Linked DNA regions of Homo sapiens: region 2 is linked to region 1. The links are contacts of gene promoters, found by promoter capture Hi-C in blood cells and fetal thymus (Javierre and others, 2016). All regions are on one chromosome and are shown on one strand. The core of a region is centred on a gene start or on the middle of the fragment in contact, and the rest is flanking DNA. Distances in the headings are between cores, read along the strand shown. Region 1 holds the start of LINCMD1 (long intergenic non-protein coding RNA, muscle differentiation 1). Region 2 has its middle 30 kb from the start of TMEM14A.

The links. Contacts are between HindIII fragments. The CHiCAGO score rates a contact against its expected background, and 5 or more counts as called.
Region 2: a contact is called between a fragment that was not itself captured here and the fragment with the promoter of LINCMD1 in region 1, in 2 of 17 cell types (naive CD4 T cells and non-activated CD4 T cells). The highest score is 5.2, in naive CD4 T cells.

The regions. Positions count from the first base shown.
Region 1 is chr6:52,148,639-52,153,303 of GRCh38, forward strand. LINCMD1 (long intergenic non-protein coding RNA, muscle differentiation 1) reads right to left here and starts at 2,385. Exons shown (of 3, transcript NR_131248.1): 1 at 2,244-2,385. It overlaps MIR133B (microRNA 133b), which reads left to right and starts at 285; the gene lies at 285-403. RefSeq lists an enhancer at 4,213-4,507. The HindIII fragment of the contact is 4,773 bases long and covers 1-2,796 here.
Region 2 is chr6:52,638,632-52,643,103 of GRCh38, forward strand. No RefSeq gene overlaps it. Among named protein-coding and RNA genes, the nearest start is that of TMEM14A, 30 kb to the right of the region's middle. The HindIII fragment of the contact is 789 bases long and covers 2,354-3,142 here.

The DNA of each region.
Region 1 (4,665 bases), core at 1,135-3,634:
TATAATTCTATAGCATATTTGATCTTCATGATGTTTCTATTTGAAAAAAGATTAAAGATTAAAGAAAAAATAAATTGAAGTCATGCAACATGAAATACAAATTATGTATGATTTGTATGTACAAATTGTATGAGATGTATGTACAAATCATGTAAGAGGACATTCTGGACAAGGCAAGCTCCTGGCATTTGACAGATGCTAATGCTGCTTCTTTTTGCATTACAGGCTTAGACAAATGATGCTTGAGACACACCAAGATACCTGCACACTAGAGGCTGCAGTCACCTCAGAAGAAAGATGCCCCCTGCTCTGGCTGGTCAAACGGAACCAAGTCCGTCTTCCTGAGAGGTTTGGTCCCCTTCAACCAGCTACAGCAGGGCTGGCAATGCCCAGTCCTTGGAGAAACAGAAGAGATTCAACTGCAACTGAAATTACCTACTAAAACTTTCCTTGAGAAAACAATTCTGGTTTTTTCACCATATTCTTATGCTCCCAGGAAGGAAGAGAAGAGGAGTCCTGGAGTCAAAAGTGAGCAAGATTTTAATGCTCAACACACACTGTTCTGTGCCTTTGCACTCACAGCTGCAGCCACTTACATGCTTTTGACAGACACACAGTCAAGAAAGAGTTTGAGGATGGAGTTTGTGCCAACCCTAAGCCAGCCAGGGGAAGAGCATGAGACATAGAAGACAGGGCTCCTGCTCACTAGGGGCTAACAGTCTAAGGAAAGAAATTAGACATGTATATATGGTGTGATCCAATTGAATTGCAAGTTATAGCATGGCTAGTTCCAAGGCATAATTCTTACCTATCCCACCAAATATGCCTAGCACATTATGTATCATCAAGTCTCTATTGATCTATTCAGCCCAAGATATCTATTCACTAAGCAATCATTTCTCAGTTCCCTGATCTGTAGAATAGGGATAATAGTACCTGTCACACCAGGCACAGTGGCTTATGCCTAAAATCTCAGCATTTGGGGTGGCTAAGACAGGGGATTGCTTGAGGCCAGGAGTTCCAGATCAGCCTGGTCAACATAGCAAGATGCTGTTTCTACCAAAAAAAAATTTTTTTTGTTTTAATTAGCTGAATGCGGTAGTGCACACCTATAGTCCTAGCTACTTGGGAGGCTGAGGCAGGAAGATCACTTAAGTCCAGGAGATGGAGGCTGTAATGAGCTAAGTTCTCATAATCGCTACCTTTTACTAAGGGAGAATTCTGACCTGTCCTTCCAGTTTATCTTTTAAGATTTGTATCTTTTATGGTGTGTGTCTGGAACTTAGACAGTAATAAGTAAATATTTGGGTTTAAAATTCTATAGACATGTGTGTTCACATGCTGTATTCTGACACAAATGGGGTAGCATAAGTGCCTAGAGCCCACCACAGTGACCTCAGAGGAGAACACAGAGCTTACTAGCACAAATCTTTGCATTCAGGAAGACCTGGGGTTGAATGCTGCCCCTCTAATTTATTAGCTGTGATATATCCTCTCCGCAGCTCAATTAACATTGCACAAGCCTTAGTTTACTCATCTGTAAAATGGGGACAATGATACCAACCTCAGTTACCGTAAGGCTTAAAACAGACAGTGTTAATAAAGAGCCAAATATAAGCCCTTAAGAAATAGTAGCTGTTGTTTTACTGCTGTAAATGGCAACAGCACAAGGACAATGCTGTGTCCACAGGCACTTGTATGTAGAAGGAAAGAGCCAAATTAAAAAAAAAATAGGAGAAGAACTCAAAAAATACATAAAGGCTCATTGCTCACTGTAGGGTTTTGTTTTTTGTTGTTGTTGTTTTGTTTTTGTTTTTGTTTATTTTTTGAGACAGGGTCTCACTCTGTTGCCCAGATAGGAGTGCAGTGGCACGATTTCAGCTCACTGCAACCTCCGCCTCCCAGGCTCAAGCGATTCTCCTGCCTCAGCCTCCCAAGCAGCTGAGATTACAGGCACGCACCACTACCACCCGACTAAGTTTTATATTTTTAGTAGAGACAGGGTTTCACCATGTTGGCCAGGCTGGTCTTGAACTCCTGACCTCAAGTGATCCGCCCGCCTTGGCCTCCCAAAGTGCTGGGATTACAAATGTGAGCCACCGTGCCCAGCCTATAGGGTATTTTTATATTCCAACTATTAATTCTACTAGCATGTAGCATACATGCATTCACCCTAGTACATATGACTAGCATATAATATGCTTTACTTTTAAAAAATGCTTTATACATGAGACTGATCTTACCATCTTCAATATCCTGTCTGGAAAGCCTTCATTTGTGAGTGCTGTTGAGATCACATGTCCTCCCAAGTAGGACATGGAGTGTGAAGGCCATTGAGTGGGTGTTCCAAAGGGCAGCACAGAATGGAGTTTAGTTGAAGGTGCTGGGGACACACTACCTGGGCTCAAGTCCCAGCTCCCCACTCTCCAGCTGTGCCACTTGAGCAAGTTGCTTGACCTCTCCAGGCCTGGGTTTCCTCATCTGTAAAGTAGGAATATTGATAATAATATCTACTTCATAGAGTTTCATGAGAATACATGTAAAGGCCTGAAACCAGTATTGGGTACATAATAATACATTCTTAAGAGTCTTTATTTCTGACAATGTACCTGAAATGTTCCTGAAATTAAGTTGGTGTTCAATAAAAACATGTTCACTGAAAGATCAGCTTCTTTGTTTATTTTAAGCACAAACTATGGGATCATGTAATTTTTGGTTCAACTATTTCTACTTATCTCTTTCAATGCAGCACACTGGTTCAAAGCAGTAGTAAGGTGTGGGGGAAGGATGGCAACAAGCTTCTCTCTGCTTCCCAGGTCTGTGATGAAATGGAACTTCCCTGCGAACTAGGGGTATGCCTCTGGGAGTAGAAGCAGGGTGATCTTGAAGCGCAGTCGCAGAGCTGTCACCCGGAAGTCACCTGGCAGAACAGAAAACAAACATGATGTGGCCAAATACCAGCTGTCCTTAACAGGAGGGATCTTTTCCATCTGGAAGGGCAGAGGTCATGTAGGTAAAGATTAGATAACAATGCCAGGTATAGGTAAAAGGAGTGTTAAAAAAGGGTCACTTTCATATTTGGGATATTATGGCTAAAATGCCTGATAAAACTGGACAAGACATATAAGGCTAAGACTAAATAATGTCTTCTCTCTGTTAGAAAGAAGCCAGCCAGGCCAGGCATGAGGGTTCTTGTCTATAAATCCCAGCACTTTGGGAGGCCAACGCTGGCGGATCTCTTGAGCTCAGGAGTTCAAGACCAGCCTGAGCAAAACTCCATCTCTACAAAAAATACCAAAAATTAGCTGGGCACAGGGATGGGGACGCTGAGGTGGGAGGATCGCTTGAGCCCAGGAGTTTGATTGAGGCTGCAGTGAGCTGCGATGGCACCACTGCACTCCAGCCTGGGTGACAGAGTGAGACCCTGTCTCAAAAACAAAAGAAAAAAAAAGAAGGAAAGAAGAGGGAGGGAGGTAGAGAGGGAGGGAAGGAGTGAGAGAGGGAGGGAAGGAAGGAAGGAAGTTAAGAAGGGAGAGAGGGAGGGAGGGAGAGAAAGAAGGTAAAGGAAAGGAAGGAAGGAGAGAGAAAGGAATAAAGAAAAAGAAAAGGAGAGGAGGGGAGGAGAGGGAAGGGGAGCAAGCTAGCACACTTCTGGCAAGGGTTGGAGAACATGAGTGAACATTGTCATCCAACTTTCTACCTATCCCCTTGCCCTCAAGGGTCTTTGCAGAACACATCTTTGAGGGCCACAGGATGGAAGGAGTTCTAGTCATAGCCTGCCTCCAAAGTCAAAATATCGTACTGTCCCCTCTTATTCACTCCTGGAGAATTCAACTTCCATTCACATTTCTGTTTGATTTTCCTTAAACCAGGAGGGGAGCAAATGTATTCCTGCTCCCACTCACCACTATAAAAAGACAGAACCTTTAAGAAAACATGTTTTCTGGTAAGTTTGAATGACCTTGATATCCATGTTCAAAGGTCCCACAAGCCCAAACTCTCCATTTCCGTAAGAAATCAAGAGGAATCAGAGAATGGGGACTGCTGCCCACGGGTTGCGGTTGCTCATCCTGCCACAGCCCCTCTTCAGGGCAGAAATCTAGGTTAGGCCACCCAGTGGGGTGTGTGGTTTTGTGATTGCTGCTGTGTCCCTTTATGTGTGTTCCTGTATCATCATCAGTCCTGTGCCAGTAAGTGGCAGCCCATGATGTCACACCGGTCAAACATGACGACTCTTGGTCACCCTCAGAATGGACCCCACCCCCACATCTGGTGAGTGTTGGGAGGAAGAAAGTGATAGCACAGGCGTGCTGAAGGAGCTCTTCCCCGGAAGGAGTTGACGGAAAATAGTGCGGGGCTATCTAACTGGCAGGAATCCAGACAAACAAGAAAATCCCATTAGTGCAGTCCATCAACGAGTTTCTTTCTGATGGTAATTCCCAGGGCTGGCAAGACTGTTAGAAAACAGCAGCTCATACATAGCTGGGAGTGAATATAGGTCTATACTCTTCAAAGCATCATTTATCAATACATAGGCATCAAGAAGGCTATTATCTTCTCTGCCCAGAATCTTCTCTTTCTCTGTTAACAGCTCAGTCTCCCTCCCTTGGCTATTCTTTTTTTTTTTTTTTTTTTTTTGAGATGGAGTCTTGCTCCATTGCCAGG
Region 2 (4,472 bases), core at 1,498-3,997, 490 kb after region 1:
GGTCTCGCTGACTTCAAGAATGAAGCCGCGGACCCTCGCCGTGAGTCTTACAGTTCTTAAAGATGGTGTGTCCGAAATTTGTTCGTTCAGATGTTCAGATGTGTCCGGAGTTTTTTCCTTCTGGTGGGTTCGTGACTTCAGGAGTGAAGCCACAGACCTTCGCAGTGAGTGTTACAGCTTTTAAAGGTAGTGCGGACCCAAAGAGTGAGCAGCAGCAAGATTTATTGTGAAGACCAAAAGAACAAAACTTTCACAGTGTCGAAGGGGACCTGAGTGGGTTGCCGCTGCTGGCTCGGGTGTCCAGCTTTTATTCCCTTATTTGGCCCCACCCATGTCCTGCTGAATGGTCCACTTTACAGAGCGCTGGTTGGTCCACTTTTTTTTTTTTTTGAAACAGAGTCTCGCTCTGTTGCCCAGGCTGGAGTGCAGTGGCACGATCTCAGCTCACTGCAAGCTCCGCCTCCTAGGTTCACGCCATTCTCCTGCCTCAGCCTCCCAAGTAGCTGGGACTACAGGCGCCTGCCACCACGTCCGGCTATTTTTTTTAATATTTTTAGTAGAGACGGGGTTTCACCGTGTTGCCAGGATGGTCTCGATCTCCTGACCTCATGATCCGCCCACTTGGGGCATTTTACAGAGTGCTGATTGGTGTGTTTACAAACCTTTAGCTACACAGAAAAGTTCTCCACGTCCCCACCCCACCCAGAAGCCCAGCCAGCTTCACCTCTCACTGGGACTATAGGCATGACTACTGTGCATGGCCATGAATAAGTTTCTTAATCTTTCTGACCCTCAGTTTCCACATCGATAGGCATAAGAATACCTATCTCAAAGTGTCATAAAAAGGATTAAATACTGTCTGTGAAAATGTCTCATGTCTGTAATCCCAGCACTTTGGGATGCCAAGTCTGGAGGATCCTTTGAGGCCAGGAGTTCAAGAGCAGCCTGGGCAACTGTCTCTACCAAGAAAAAAAAAAAATTAGCTGGGCGTGGTGATCCACCTGTAGTCCCAGCTGCGTGGGAGGCTGAGGCAGGAGGATCACTTGAGCCTAGGAGTTGTAGGCTGCAATGAGCTATGATTGCATCACAGCACTCCAGGCTGGGTGACAGAGGGAGACCTGTCTCAAAAAACAAAAAACAAAAACAAACAAACAAAAAACAGAAAAAAAGAAAATGTCTTGGTATATGCCAGGAACTTAGTAAATAGTACTACCTTCTCTTAACTCCTTAACAGAAGGTAAGAATGAAGAACATTCCTTCCTCTGTATTTCAGAAGTAGGTACACTCTTTGGGGGAATTTATACAAGTCCAATTTGAACTCTTTTACAGGTGAGGTTGGGAAGGATGGGTCAAGGTAGGTGGGGATGGGTGAGGGGTGAGATATCCTTACCTTTTATCTCCCTAGAACATCATGAATATTTTATAACTACTAATGATGAAAATATTGTTTGTACTCTCTATTTTTCTCTGTGAAAGGGTGTTTGGAAAGTCATTTCTTGTTGTTATGTTTGGTTTCTAGTGCTCCCTGGGAAGCACTGATCTTGGATTTGGCTGCTGTGTGGGAGACCAGTGTTCCTCTTAGCTGATGGTGGAGACTCACGTCAGTGCAGGCTGCAGCGATGACTCTCAAACTGTGAACAATGCTCCCCAGTGTGTGCACGGGAGGGCCAGCATATGGAGACCTCGCGGAGAGCCAAACGCGGGCTCTCTGCACTTCCTTCAGTTTTGTTTAAATACAGGATCCGGTTTGCCTTTGTCACCCGCTGTAGCACCACCAGGCTTCATTCACTGTGAAGCCTTGCCAGATCTCTGTAATAAATTACCTGGGAGGCCAAGGCGGGAAAAGAGGAAAGAACAAGGTAAAGCGCTTTGAAATCTGACTTTCTCCCTGGAGTGTTCAGTGTTGCCTATTTAGAAGGTGCAGGGTTGTGCTAAGGTGTGTGCTGGGAGCTTTGTAGGCTAAAGTTTGTAGAAAAAGTTTGGTTCATTTCAGTCATCACTTACAAATTTTTTCTATTAAGTGTTTAAGATTTCCAAACTTAAAAAAAAAAAAAAACAGGTTCAGAGTATTTTTAAAAAGGCATTGGTCATTTGTACAGCTTACATTTCACTAAATCTTTACAACAATTTTGAGAGGTAGGTAATACTAGTATCCCTCATTTTATACTGAGGAAACTAAGGCTCAAAGAGGCTCAATGCTTGTCTGGTATCATATAGTCAGTAAGGAATAAAACCAAATCTTGAACCCTGGCTTCCTGGCTCTGTGTCTTTTCCTAGCAGACTGACCATCAAGGCTGGACATCCCTTTCAGTTCTTTTGAGAACAGACTAGTTGGCTAGATGTGAAGAAAACAAGCTTTGGAGTAATCTTCCCTCTGCACAGCCTGTGATATTGGGATCCAGTGAGTGACGGTGAGAGGTGGAGATGTATGAACGAGACCTGAGACGTTGGACCTGAACATCACAGCAATCACTTGCAGGGCTAAGATTCAGGGCCAGCTGTCCATGGATTCTCCCGAGTTGGATCGTCTTTCACACACCTGCTTCCTGAGGTTACATCTCTTTTCCAGCCTAGGAGCAACCAATAAAGAGCAGAGAGCAAAGAAAAGCAGACACACAAATCATCTCTAGACTATGTCAAGGGTATCCCCAAAATGGGAAAGAAATTCATGAATGTACACACAAAATGTCACGTATTTTTGTTTTACATTAAAAACACTGTGTCCCAGAAGTAAGGAGTAGAATGGTGGTTGCCAGGAGCTGAGGGGTTGGGGACATGGAGATGCTGGTCAAAGGGTACAAAATTTCAATATGCAGAATGAATGAGTTCTGGAGAGCTAATGTACAGCATGGTGACCATAGGTAATCATGTGGTATTATATTGTGACATTTGCTGAGAGTAGGTTTCAAATGGTCTCACCACAAAAAGGAAAATGGTAACCATGTGAGGTGATGTTTATGCTAATTAGCTTGATTGTGGTAATCATTTCACAACATGTATGTATATCAAAACATCTCATTGTACACCTAAATATATACAATTTGATTTGTCAATTGTACATCAATAAAGCTGGAAAAATGTATTCAATCCTATATAATAGATTGGGAAATTACATAGCCATATCTGATTATGAATTCAGCAAAGCTTTTAAATATGTTTTTATTTTACTATTCACAAGAGCACCTTGGTGCATTTGAAATTAAATCCTTCAATGTGGAGAAAACAAAACACTGTCTCACTGAGCACAAAGCTTGTTCAATATTTTTGTCAGCGCGATGTATTTTTGTTAGCAATGTTGACCACTGAAATGATTTCCTTAGCAGATAATTTTCCAGTAAACCTCCCACATCATTGCAAACTTCCTGTTCCCAGCTGCTCTTCCTCTTCTTAAGCCCCTCATTATAGGCAGTAGGAGAGCTGATAATCAGCAGAAAATTAAGCTGGCAGGGTGTGTGCTTAAAGGCGTCAATTTCCAAGGGAAGGAAGTGTTCATTTTGTTTTGTTTTATTTTGTTTTTATGAAGCATTGCTTTTTACTTGTGTTGTGCCTTTTGAACTTAAGCATTATTTTTTGACAATGGAGACTTTTGGTTTAGTGCAGTTCTCTGTAACTGGACAGTACTCAATAGAAATTGTTGAATTGAATGTTTAACATATGCTTCTCTTTGACCAAATAAGGAATATTTTATGGGCCATTTTTCATTTTAGATGAGCTTATAGGAATAGGCACTCTTTGGAAATTGGAGAAATTAATTCTTAGGGAGTGTAGTCCAAGTTTAATTCTGGGTCTTTGAGTGATACTTTTAAAACAAGTGCCTTTGACCCTTGATTAAGTACAAAATAAGCACATAGCTAATGTAAACCTCTTAAATCAGTGGTTATCAGGCTTGGCTGCACAGTGGAATAACCTCAAGTGGGATGTGTGGGAGAATTAAAAAAAAATACTGCTGCCCGGGTCTCAGACTCAGAAATCCTTATGTAATTGGTCTAATCTACAGCCTGTCTTCAGGGTTTTTAAAAGCTTCCCAGGAGATGCTAATGGATAGCCAAAGCTGACAACCATTGTCTTTAATGAATGAACACATTTAATCAGCCTGTACTAAGTACTAGGCACTGACGCTAGGCACCTGTTTCTGTTATCTTTTATTAATGTGGAAATTGGCACTCATAGAAGTTGATTTGTTTACCATCACAGAGCAGAAAACTGTTGAAGATGGAAAGCAAACAACAACAACAAAACCTAACAGTCCTATGGCCTCCCCACATTCTTTGCCATTTACATCATAGTAGTTAAAAAATATGCTGGTGACTGCAAAAGCCAATGTATCAACCTTTAAAATGAAGAAATAATGAAATGAAAACTAACTTTGTTGAAGATTAGGACAGTCCTTGGGATGGTATGTGATATAAGTTTTAAACTCTGTGTAAAAATAAAACCTGAGTGCAAAGCCTGTTGGATATATGTCTACTTCT